Linked DNA regions of Homo sapiens: region 2 is linked to region 1. The links are contacts of gene promoters, found by promoter capture Hi-C in human tissues and cell types (Jung and others, 2019). All regions are on one chromosome and are shown on one strand. The core of a region is centred on a gene start or on the middle of the fragment in contact, and the rest is flanking DNA. Distances in the headings are between cores, read along the strand shown. Region 1 holds the start of IFNA13 (interferon alpha 13). Region 2 overlaps KLHL9 (kelch like family member 9).

Evidence for each region. The method cuts DNA at HindIII sites, captures the fragments that hold promoters and counts their contacts. A contact is called where the count stands out against the background at its distance.
Region 2: a fragment that was not itself captured here is called in contact with the fragment with the promoter of IFNA13 in region 1 in 1 of the 25 tissues and cell types used here (small bowel).

Annotation. Positions count from the first base shown.
Region 1 is chr9:21,363,843-21,370,595 of GRCh38, forward strand. It overlaps IFNA13 (interferon alpha 13), which reads right to left and starts at 4,215. Exons shown (of 1, transcript NM_006900.4): 1 at 3,530-4,215. The coding sequence starts at 4,168. The coding sequence ends at 3,596. The HindIII fragment of the contact is 15,253 bases long and covers 1-6,753 here.
Region 2 is chr9:21,326,770-21,333,522 of GRCh38, forward strand. It overlaps KLHL9 (kelch like family member 9), which reads right to left. Exons shown (of 1, transcript NM_018847.4): 1 at 2,896-6,753. The coding sequence ends at 6,237. The region is part of intron 2 of LOC107987053 (a long non-coding RNA gene); the gene reads left to right. Among named protein-coding and RNA genes, the nearest start is that of KLHL9, 5.3 kb to the right of the region's middle. The HindIII fragment of the contact is 7,144 bases long and covers 1-6,596 here.

The DNA.
Region 1 (6,753 bases), core at 2,965-5,464:
CTCTATGTAGTGGGGCATCTGTGGCTACTTTCTCTCTCTCTCTCTTTTTTATTTGCATTCTTCGAGGAGTCCCAGGCTTTCTAGAAGTATTCTCTACAACCCTTTATGTGGTAGCCAGAACTCTGATGTTTCTGCTTAGTAATTTTCCATCCACTGACCACCAAATGCAGAGGCAGGGGCTTGTCAATGATAAGAGAGAGCTAGATGAACGACTGAAAATGGCAGAAGTAAATAGAAGAACAAGTCTTAGAGGAGCCAGACTGGGGAGATCTTAAGCTTCTTCAAAAGGCCAATGAAGTTTTACATTTTTTTAAGCAAAAATCCTGCCTACAAGAAAGGAAGCAAACAGAGGATTCAAATATATAATTTAAAAAGGCTTAAGTTTACAGAAAAAATGTTTCCATGGGATAAACAAGATCCCAAGGAGAAAATCAGAAAGACCCTTAAAAAATGGTAGCCTTGATACCCACTTTAAATTAAGCTAATAATTGAATACAGAGCTCTTAAAATTACTTTAAAACCCCTTACCGGATTTCGGCAAGAACAAACAACCCATATTTCTAATGTTTGAAACTTTCTTTTTTCTCTTTTCTTTTAAAACAAAGACACCTACCAAGTGACTCAGTACCAAAACCAAGCCTTTTTTGACTTCACCAAGGATGCATAAGACATCTTCAAAGAAATGCCAAGATGCAGTCCTCTCAAAATTCAGAGCCACCTCTAAAGATCGCCGCAAGAAAGAAATATTTAGACACCTCGAGAGCTGGCAATAGTCAATATGTAAACTTTTAATGGGCGCCTCCAACTTTTGGTTTGGCCTCCTGCACACACCGAAGGGCATCCTGATAGGCAGCAAGCCAAGTCAGGTTCTCAGGACACAAAACAGCAAAACGACAGCTGTCTATTGAAGGGAAAGGATCAATAACACATGGGTCCCATAAATCCAAATTTACACAAGAGAACAATTCAAACAAATGATCTTCTCCTGATGACCTGCATTTGGAAAGGAAGAAATAAAGATAAATTTTTACCTTTAGTTCTTGACCAGACACTACAAGCAGAAATTCAGAACTGAACTTGGTAAAAATTCTTACCTTTACTGGCAAGCTCTTTATCAGCATTTTACCTGGACCTCATCAGTAGGTGAGTCAGGTGCTTCAGGCATCCCATCTTCATCACCACAACTATAGGGGTAGAAATAGTGTGATCTCTTTCCTTCCTATCAAAAGGGTCACAGCTCACACGCCTAAAACAAAAGACAGCTTAACAAGAGAGAAGCATAACACATTTATTTAATCACAGGTTTATATAACTACGGAAGCCTTCAAAATGAAGACCCAAAGTACAGGAAAAAACTATCCATTTTTATGCTTATGTTCCATGAAGAATGGCCAGCTGTGTAGAAATGTGATTAGACAAAAAGGGCATCATCTAATGCTAATATTCTGAGTAGGGGAAACCCAACAAGGCCTTTCTGGTCAGATACTTCTTGGCCCCTCCATACACCATTCCTTCCTCTTGGGTATGTGGCAGAGCTCTTTTTGGAATGGGGGTCTTAGTATCTACAATCAAACAAGGCAGGTGAGAGAATTTCTTTATGGCCAGTTCAGTTCTTACACACAAAGGTGAGGGAAAGTTAGAGTCATATTTTCAGATTTTATGGCTGGCTTTGGGGAAAAGGGTCTCCCTCAGGAGATGAGGCGTGACAAACAGCAGGGCAGGAGAAGGCCAGAGAGAAACTTTGCTTCTGAAGCTGCTTCTGAGAACTTCACTTTGGGGTATTATTTTTGAGCCTCAATAGGAGTGAAAATGAGATCCAGAAAAGCTGGGGAAGAAGGAAAGAACTGTGCTGGGTATCGGAATCAGCAAATGAATGGTATGTATATTTCACTTAGGTTTAAGAAAATAAACTCTTCCAGATTTTCCTGTAAGATACCGTATCCTGACTGAATATACACATCAGACTTATCTTCAGTACGAAGGGTGACTATTTTTCAGTTTTCTCCAGAATACTCCAAGAATTCTGCGTTTTAGATTCTTATGTGTTATGGAGATTGAGGAGAGAAGAGAACATTCCCTTTTCTGTTTTCTCATTTTCTTTTTTTTCTTTTCTTTTCTTTTTTTTTTTTTTTTTTTTTGGGGACGGAGTATTGTTCTATTGCCCAGGGGCTGTAGTGCAGAGGCGCCATCTCTGCCTCCGGGGTTCAAGTGATTCTCCTGCCTCAGCCTCCCGAATAGATGGGATCACAGCTACCCAACACCATGCCTGGCCAAATTTTTGGTTTTTAGTAGAGACAGGGTTTCACCATATTGTCCAGGCTGGTCTTGAACCCCTGAACTCAAGTGATCCACCCACCTTGGCTTCCAAAGTGCTGAGATTACAAACATGAGCCACTGCACCCAGTCCCTTTTCTGATATATATGCACTAATTAAGAAAATAATAACCATATATTTATAAAATAAGAAAATAAGCATATATACATATGTTTTATATATATACACTATATATAAAATATATATATAGTGTGTGTGTGTATGTGTGTGTGTGTGTATATATATACATATATATACGTATATATATATATGTACGTATATATATACACACACACACACATACACACACACACACACACACACATACATTCTAGAGGCTGGTCTGCCTGAGATTTAGGCAGAGACACAGTTCCAGACCATATTAATCACCATTGTCTCTATTTGTCCATCCCTCTGTTTCCTTTGTGGCTCTTCTCTTCCTTCCCTTTAAAGGTGGAAGGTCCTTAGAATCACGTTTAAGTCCTTTTCTCTGTCTACACTCTCTCCACACATGAGCACTTTCATTTCTGGGATTTTGCTTGCCACATATGAACTCCCAGCAATTGCATTCCTTATAATTTGCAAACTCACATATCCAACTGGCAATAGACAGTTTCTACCACATGTTGTATCAGTCAACTTATAGAGGATATCTGTTTATTTTTATTTCCTCACATGTTTCAGTTTACCTCCTGCCGAAAGAAATCATTGTTCATTCCTTTTTCTCCTTATAGTATTCAGGATAACTGATACTAAGTATGATTACTATTTTTAGTTTTATTCCATACAAAAATCAAACATGCAAGAGAGTAGGAAGTAGATTTATTGTATTCACCTTTATAACTTGAGTACAACATACAACCTGGTTTAGAGAAAGGTCATTTTTACTTACATCTCTCATATAATAATGATGAGTAAATAAATTATACCCTTTATTCTCTCATCAGGTTGCACAGTCAGGCTAGGAATTTTGTATTAAAGAATGAACACATACAGGAAGTTCCTATAGTAAAAGTTTAATGAACAACATAAAATAATGAATTGAGTAGATATAAGGAACATGTTTTATTACACTAACCACAGTGTAAAGATGCACATGATGTTATATGAACAAAAATAATTTAAATCTTATGAATAGCTAAATAAATATTTAAATAGATAAATCAGTTTATCAGCATGGTCATAGTTATAGCAGAAGTGAGAGTCTTTGAAATGGCAGAATTCATGAAAGCGTGACCTGGTATATGAGTCAATAAGAATTGTTTCATGTTGGACCAGGTGTTATTCCTTCCTCCTTAATCTTTCTTGCAAGTTTGTTGATAAAGAGAGGGATCTCATGATTTCTGCTCTGACAACCTCCCAGGCACAAGGGCTGTATTTCTTCTCTGTCAGATAGAGAGTGATTCTTCGGAAGTATTTCTTCACAGCCAAGATGGAGTCCGCATTCATCAGGGGAGTTTCTCCCACCCTCTCCTCCTGCATCACACAGGCTTCCAAGTCATTCAGCTGCTGGTAGAGTTCGGTGCAGAATTTGTCTAGGAGGTCCTCATCCCAAGCAGCAGATGAATCTTTTGTGGTAAAGAGGTTGAAGATCTGCTGGATCAGCTCATGGAGGACAGAGATGGCTGGAGCCTTCTGGAACTGGTTGCCATCAAACTCCTCCTGGGGAAATCCAAAGTCATGTCTGTCCATCAGACAGGAGGAAGGAGAGATTCTGCTCATTTGTGCCAGGAGCATCAAGGTCCTCCTGTTATCCAGGCTGTGGGTCTCAGGGAGATCACAGCCCAGAGAGCAGCTTGACTTGCAGCTGAGCACCACCAGGGCCATCAGTAAAGCAAAGGGCGAGGCCATCATAGATATTGCAGATGCTTCTGGGCTTGCTGAGATGGGTGACTCTGAACCTTGGGCTCTAGGTTCTCTGAAGGCTTTGCTTCCTGCAGATGCCTTAAATAGGGAACATACTGATTTCCACTTTCTTAATGCTTCTGGACCACTTTCCATTTCTGTTTTTGCTTTCCTTCTTGAACTCTTTACATGAGTTTAGAGCCGTGTTTCTCAACCATTTTGTTTTTCATTATTGTCTCCCCCATCTTGTTCCCAGAGACTTTTTAGATTTTTTTTCCTAATTGAACCCACCGTGAAAATTTAATAACACAGATATAATATCTATCTATTTGTGTACTATATGTATATCTCTATACTCAAAAAGTACAAAGTTTAATCATTTTATTCAATGCAAGTTTAAAAATAACCAAATGAAAATTTTAAGATAAAAGTTAAATTTAAACGCTATTCAAATTTAACTTAACTTTATAACTAAATTTGCTTGTGGGCTTCAATATAGTTTATTTACTGATATAAATTGTAATGTATTAAATTACATAAGAAATTTAACAAATTATAAACATTATCTAATGTTTCTAGATAAACATTATACAGCTAAGTAATGAATGTTTATGAATTATTTGAAACTGATAAAGACTTAATAATTTAAAATATTTTTATCATTTATTTTTATTATACTTAACTTTTAATTTTGTTGCATGTGAGAAAATTTTTAACTTCACTAGCTGCTAGATACTCACCTAGAGAGTGTGAAGAATTTTTTCTTCAATTCTTGACCTAAATATAGATGTGTTGAACAACTTCAGTAGAATTGTTAAAATATAAATTATTTATATTTCATTTCAAAGCCCACAACACAGACAGAAATGCTAAGGATCAAACATAAGCAATATCTATAAGATGGCCAGTGACAAACCATATGTATGCAGAGGACACCTCTCATGATATGACTTTGAGATCTAATACATCTTGGAAAGTACTCCAATCACAGCTACCCATTTGCCATAGGTTTGTAATGCTGAACTTTTATACCTTTTGTGTATCTTCCATGAACTCAATGTCAGTGCTTCTCATGTGATACACAAGAAAACCCAATGGAGAGAAAAAAAAAAAAACTAAGGAATAAGATTTTGTTAAATAGGTTGAGCTTTGAAGGGCCACAAACCATTTAAATATGTAAGATTTGTTCCCACTCCCAAGAACTAACTTCTACATCCTTGGGAGTAGTATCATATGCAATGAGAATACACAATTGAAAAAACATCCTCGATTTGATTAAAAATTTTTTGCATGAAAGTTCAAATTTCCAAGGTGCCTTCAGAGGTTCTTTGCTGATTCCTAGCAAACTAAAGGAAACTATCTTTGTCCTAGATGCGCATAATAGGATGTAAATATAATAACATAAATAAGTAGACAATTGTTTTACATAGCATGCCAGACACCAGATATCTTTCTTTCTCATTTCATTTTCATAGAAAGCAAAAGTTGTCACTTTTTGCATCCTAACTAATGGGAACAAAAAGATAACACAAGTGGCCGGGCGTCGTGGCTCACATGTGTAATGCCAGCACTTTGAGAGGCCGAGGCAGACGGATCATCTGAGGTTGGGAGTTTGAGACCAGCCTGACCAACATAGTGGAGGTTAAGGGGTGGGAAAGAACAGAAGCAAAATAGTAGAAGGGATGTAGGTCAAGGTAACACGTAAGTATGGGCTGGAAGAAAAGTAATTACTCCTGGTCCACAGTGTGTTTTCAGATTTACCGAACCCCATCTTGCAAATATACCAACTGCAAGAGTTTATACACAAGAAAGAGAAATTTTTGAGAGTACAATATTCTCTCTGGAAAATGGGTCAGTGTTCATTGCACCAAGCTCTCCACTATTGGATAAGTAAACTTAGAAGGTCAGTTTTTTTCTTCTTATATTTCTAGTAAGAAACAAGAGAATTGATAATTTCAGAGGACACTTCCCTAACTTTTAATAGAGTTATATAATAAAGATAATGTTAATAAGAGAAATGAAATATCAGGCCGGGTGCGGTGGCTTACGCCTGTAATCCCAGCACTTTGGGAGGCCGAGCTGGGCAGATCACCTGAGGTCAGGAGTTTGAGACTAGCCTGACTAACATTTTGAAACACCGTCTCTACTAAAAATACAAAATTAGTCTGGTGTGGTGGCACATGCCTGTAATCCCAGCTGAAGCAGAAGAATTGCTTAAACCCAGGAGGTGGAGGTTGCAGTGAGCTGAGATCATGCCTTTGCACTCCACTTGCACCCCAGCCCAGGCAACAAGATTGAAATTCCGTCTTAAAAAAAGAAGGAATGAAATATCTAAATTGTGGAAAGTCTTTATTTATTTTCAGTCAGACACTGTTTTTAGCACTTGCATAATCAATGCTTACTTAATCAATAAAGAATATCCATTTTTCATATTTACTGAACGTCTACCATGTACCTAGCCCCATTTATTCACTAGATATATCACTGACCAAAGCACACAGTGATAGATTTTACTATTATCCCCATATGCAAAAGAAAAAAAATGAAATCCCAGGGAGCTATTAAGTTGTGGAGCCACAGTTTGGATGGAGAAA
Region 2 (6,753 bases), core at 1,775-4,274, 38 kb before region 1:
ACAGAGGAACGACCTATTCTGTGTACTAGTGCATTTGGCTCAGGTACACAATTCAACAGTTATGTGTTCAGTCATCCTTAATGAATATCTAAGTCTTTTATTCTAATCATCATCCAGCCATTCAAATATATGCTCAACAATTGAATACTAGAGGATGCAGATAAAGTATCAAAATTAAGGTGGGAAGAATCTTTAAAAATCCATTTAAAAGTATTTTAATGGAAGGTCTAATGTGGTCCTATTAGGAAGCAAATAATAGTATCATGCTGAGATGACTATTTCTGGCCTATTTTCTGTCACTTATTAATTCTAGAAATATACTTACTGTCCAAAAGGTATGAAACTTGAAAGATCATTTTACTACTTTTGCCAAATTGCATTCTAAACTGTAAACCAATTGACAATGCACTCAGCAATATGTAAGAGTCCTTTCTAACCCAACAGTTGAAAACAATTAAAAAACAGACTCTTTTTCAGTATTTGACATGAGAAAAATTAAATTATCATCTCAATAAATTTGACTAAATAAATGAAGAAATGGGTAGTTAATGACACACTGATCACACAGCGAAGAAATAGCCTTTCTTTCAGCCCATGGATGGTACTAAGAAAAATTTGGATCAGCTGGTACAGAAATCATTTGTAATGAAGATACACAACCCTAATTTTTTAAGACTCCTAATTAATGAGGAACTTCGTGAACAAGATCAAGGATATTTCCTTGTAACAAAGGAATCCTAAAACTAGAATTACCCCTATTAAAATTACGCATAAGACACAATTCCTCGGTCACTACTATAATTTTGCTGGAAGTATGAACCATGCTTTAATGTTTCACATTAAACTAATAATATGAAATTGGCTTTTATAATATGCAGATAATGGTTAGTTAAGGTGAAAATATGAGAATTGACCCAAAAAACTGAAGAATCAATGAGAGTCGGTAGACAGAAAACCATTATGCTAAAACCACATATTTCCTACTTCTACCAAGAGTTCAGAATATAACATAACGAAATCCCATTCAAAGCAGAAATACACAAACACACACACACACACACGTATATATCAAAGACAACTTAACTTGAAAAAAGATCATTGGAAGTGAAGAAAAATACTCTAAATTGATTGACTATAAGATTTTATGATTTTTTTTAAAGCATAAAAATTCAGCAAGGAAATGAAGATATTCAAAAAGTGGTTATGGAAAAATTAGGTAATTTGAAAAATACATTAGATTTTATGCCAAAAGTTTGGTAGAAAGTTGTATCAATAATAACAACATAAAATACTGGGATAATTATGCCACCTAATGATAAAAAAATTATTCAAGAAAGCATTAAAATGACAAAAAAACTAATTGTGCTACGTTACAAAGGAAAAACACTTGATTTCTTTGCTCACAGAACACAAGTGGGCAAATACTTGCTGTAAATAGAGAATAAAGATTAATCTTAATATAGCCAGTTGCAGTGGCTCACACCTGTAATTCTAGCCCTTTGGGAGGCTGAAATAGGAGGATCACTGGAGACCAGGAGTTCAAGAACAGCCTGGTCAACATAGCGAGACCCCATCTCAAAAAAAAATGAATGATTAATCTCAATATAAAAAGGTAAGTTTATTAATTTTAAGGAAAATCTCATTCTCATTTTAACTAGAAAGAAAAGCTACTTGAACAGGAGACAAGCAGTAAATGCCACCCTAACATGTCAAGAACTAGTAATCACAAAGCTATAGAGCTATAGTATCAAGAACAAGTAATACCACATCAGTACTATATAACAACCACCACCACCACCACACACACACACACCCCAAATTAAAAAAAACAAAAATATCACCGAAAGGTCAACATACAAAAAAGACGAACATACTTGATCATATTAAATTGAATAAAAAAGTAGAGTATAAAAAAGTATTTATAGCAAATAGGACAATTAAAGCAAAAGACAGGAGCAAATGATTTATGAAAAATACACATGCTCAATAAACAAGAAATTATAACTAGTAATTAAAGATATGTAAATCCAAACAGTGAAATAACTAGAACTGCAAAGATTTCCTTTGAAATAGTTACTGAACACAGTTCTGCTAAAAATGCATATGGTATAATCCTGGAAATATTTTTTAAGACCCTAAAAAAGCTAACACTACATGATTCCGATTTTACTTAGCATTTATCATAGGGTAGTAGCTATGGGCAAAGTTTTATGTAAGAATATTACATCTTGCTTTATTATGGTGAAAATTTATGGTAGACATTTAAATATCTACACATAAGGAAATGGAATAATTTGGCATGTTCATGGAATGAAATATTGTATAGACGCTGAACACTTTCAAAGAACAATAGCCTGAAAATCATTAAGCTGAAGCAAAAGTCAAAAATTATAAAATCCCAACTTTGTTAGTAACAACTATCATTCACTGCTTTTGTGCATATCTTATGCTAATCGCTTTATATTATTTCCTTACAAATCTGATATAAATAGAATTATTAATGATCACACCCAACCTGATAGATGTATGACAAAGCTGAAGTTTTAGAGAGTTAAACTTACCCCACAATCTTTCGGCAGTTGTTTATAATCGGTTGAGCTGGGGATGGCACATTTATGTAGTTTTAAAATGTCCTGTAGGAGCTTACTGCCTTTATAGTGAGAACAAAATAATTTTGATTACAAAAATCTGAACATGAGTGAAATGTGTTTGCTTTGCAGGCCAACTACATAAATATTACTGTAAGCAAGTGGGAAAGAAATTTAAGTCTGGATTTATCTGAATAAAAATGGAATCTGTTTTTCTAAATACATGTGCATTTGATAATTAGAAAAAAACACCTTATGATTTTTTAATATATACAGCTTTTTAAAAAATAAGAGAAAGTCATGATAATAGGAGTCTTTGGAAGGTGGATTTATTTTCATTATCCAGCTTTTAGCCTAAGGTCTGGCATACTTGAAAAATATTTGACAAATGCCTGCACATATGTACGTATATATATATATATAATATACTATTAATAGAAATTATCTTCAACATGTGGAATCACTGATAAATTAGTTTGCTTTTATTTTCCTGTACGTTCTATAATAGACATATCAAAAAAGCTAACAAATGTTAATTTTTGAATACTTTCCGAAAAACTAAAACAAGAAATGTTAACATAATGCTTTATGTGCTTTTAGTTTTTATCCTCTAAATATTTTTCCAGTCTGAACTTTCTTTAAAAAATTACCAGCTTATGAAAATAAATCTCTTTCCATTTAATCATTTCAACCACCTAAAATTTCTCTCTATAAGAAACTCCAGGTTTAATGAGCAGTACAGATTGAATATCCCTTATCTGAAATGCTTGGGACCAGAAGTGTTTTGGATTTTGGAATATTTGCATGTACATGACGTATCCTGGGGGAGGGACCCAAGTCTAAACAATATTACTTAAAACTTCGGTTATATTTCACGTTTCAGACACGTAGTCTGAAGGTAATTATAATAGTCTTAATAATGTTGTGCATGAAACAAGTCTTCACTGTGTTTTGAGTGTAACCTGTCACATGAGCTCTGGTGTGGAATTTTCTACTTGTGGCATCCTGTTGGCCCTCAAAAAGTTTTAAATTTTGGAGCAATTTGGATTTTTGGATTAGGGCTGCTCAACCTGTATTAGCATAGCATTAGTCAGCTACCTGTATGATTACCAAGAGAACTGTCAACTGCAGAATACGGGAAAGTAAAAAAATGAGAGGCAGGGTGGGTGAAGCTGGAGGTGGGGGATGTAGATAGAGCAGTTTACCTAGTAAAGCAATACTTATTTCAATAGGAAGCACCAGGTTCAGACATAAGATGTAATAAAAAGTACTTTTTTTCAATAAAAGGAAAAGCCTGTACAAAATAGAGGCAGGGCAGTATCACCTTGATATGTCAGAATAAGCACTGAAATACTACATAAAAAATAAACCATATCAAAATTATCCCCTAACCCCATCTCTACTAAAAATACAAAATTAGCCGGGCTTGGTGGTACATGCCTGTAATCCCAGCTAATCGGGAGGCTGAGGTGGGAGAATCGCCTGAACATGAGAGGCAGAGGTTTCAGTGAGCACACATCGTGCCATTGCACTCCAGACTGCACAACAGTGAGACCCTGTCTCAAAAAAAAAAAAAGACAAATTTGATCTCAAAAATTAACTGAACAGCGTTGCCTTTGTAAAACTACAACAGATTGAGGGAAGAAATAAATGCAAGCAAATGCAAGTTAAATTACATTTATTATATAAAGAGATCCTATAACTTGATACGAAAAACAAAGCAACTCCAACAGATAACAGAAGGGCAAAAGGACAGGAACATCTGATCAAAGAAACACAGCTACCGATAGCACACAAATATTCAACCTCATTAATAATCAAAGGATTAGGATGCACTTCTTGCTTATTCAATAAAGTTAATAATTTCTAATTTTTCTACTTTTCAAATGTACTCAAATGTGCTATTTTTAGTAATAAAAAACTGAGTAATTAAAAAAACATAGAAAGTATGAAAATTTCTGCCAATGCAGAAATCATAAACAGCATTAAAATGAATCAACACTTGTATGGGCAGTAAGGTTCAGACCCCTAGAAGCCAATTCATTTTGCCTTGGTTCCTGAGTTTTATTATGGGATTGTCAATAAGGAGAAAGTTGTTCCTGATTTACATGCTGACAATCTTCCAGGTATAGGGGGTTGTGTGTGTGTATTACACACACACACAATGTATATATAAATTTTTTTTCTTCAGGTAGACAATTATTCCAGGAAAGTACCTCTTCAGAATCACTCATTACAGAGAATTCCTGTAACTCCATTTGCTGATAAAAGTCCCATTAAAAATTACCATGTGGTTCTCAACCAATAGGGATACCTTTGGCATTGAAGAGGCTGAGGGTTGATTTTAGTACTGCTTGTAAGACCATAGTGTTCCAGAGGCTCTGTAGCTGGCTTCTTTGGGAATCTGAAGTTGGTCCTGTCTTTGAGACATGGCCAAAAGCACATTTTTCCTCACTTGATGCAGAAGAAAATGTTATCTCCTGCTTGCTCAGATCATAGCCTCGAGGCAGATCACACAGCTCAGGATGCACATGGACTGGAACAGCACCAGGGCAAGCACCCCAAATCACAAAATAATCATGTTAGGATGACTAAGTTGGGAGGCTGAACTTAAAACCCTATAGCTTTGTTCAGAATATTTTTTTCTTTGCTTTTTTCATTAAGTTTTACTGACCAAAAAGGTGGAAAAAAGAACCTAAATTTTCTGCACAAAAGCAGTTCTCTGAAACCTGAACTTTACCAATCTGTGTAAAAGTACTCTACAGAAAATACACAAGCAGAAAACAGTAATGTAAGCTTCATCTGAAGTAACGGTTTAGTCACATGACAAATTTGGTTGTCGATTTAGTATGCTGTAGCCCTTATCTATCTAAATTCAGTATGACTACATAGACATTTATTCTCTGGTACTGAATTTCCATTTGAATAGAAACGGCTGCTTTGTGGAAGAAAGAAACTTCAATTTAAAAACAATTTCAGCATCGTTGAAGTGCCAATCAGTTTTCAAATTATGTGTGTGTATACATATGTATGTATGTGTGCATGCATGTATGTTTGTATTATGTGTATTTTTTCCTCCTCTCTCCCTCTCTTGCTCGCTCTAGAGAGAGATACCAAATACTGGCTTGGTGCTATACTGTTTTTTCCTAGTTAATATTTTTATTATTTCTGTCTACGTAAGAAACTTCAAATATTCTGAATGCAACCACACAATCGAGTAAGTTGACAGACATGACAAAAACTACGAAAAGAGGGAGGTAACTAGTATTAATACTTGGCAACCTTTCGTTATTTTTAGTTTAGAGCGGCCTCCCTCTGACATTTTGGAGTCAAAGATGAAAACTCAACTTTGAAGCATAATGGACATAATTACACATTTACCACAGTCATCTACAATTTTATATAACATCACAAAAAGACATCTAAACATTTTTCTACGTCTTTTTTTCATTTGTTAAAACAGCTATGTTAAATACATTTTCAGAATGCATTTGTTAGCCACTTGATAAACATACTAAAAGCCATACAAGACGAATAACATCAGTTACCTTTATATCTAATAACTGTACCAATCACTGTAAGAAGATACAACTGAAGGGGAAGTATTAGATCACCCATGACGTACTGCAAAGGTGTTACACCTTAGACCTAAGAATGATCTGAAGGTGCTGAAAGAGGTGATTCTCTAGAAGGTGACCCAGGGTTTTCTTCAGGTGGAAAAACTGTGAGTGTACAGGCTCGAATGCCACCAAGTGACTCTGGAAGATCAAAAACTTTATGCCACTCATCTTTTTCTGGGTCATATTTCTGGACAATTTCTACCATACAACGATTATTCCAAGAATATCCACCAACAACATAGATTTTATTTTCAAAGACGGCAACTCCAACATCACTTTGGCCTCTTAACATGGCGGCAATTGGGGTCCACTGGTCAAGGGTTGGTGAATAGTATTCACAGCTTAGAACATCATCATAATCACTTGTTCCTCTGAAGTGATTGCCACCAATGACATAGAGCTTATCTCCAACTGTACACATGCAATGCAGACCTCTGACTGTAGTCATTGGAGCCTTTTGCATCCATTTATCTGTATCTGGGTCAAAACACATGAGCTCATTTTGGAAAGTGTCATGGGTAATTCCTCCTGAAATATACATTAAG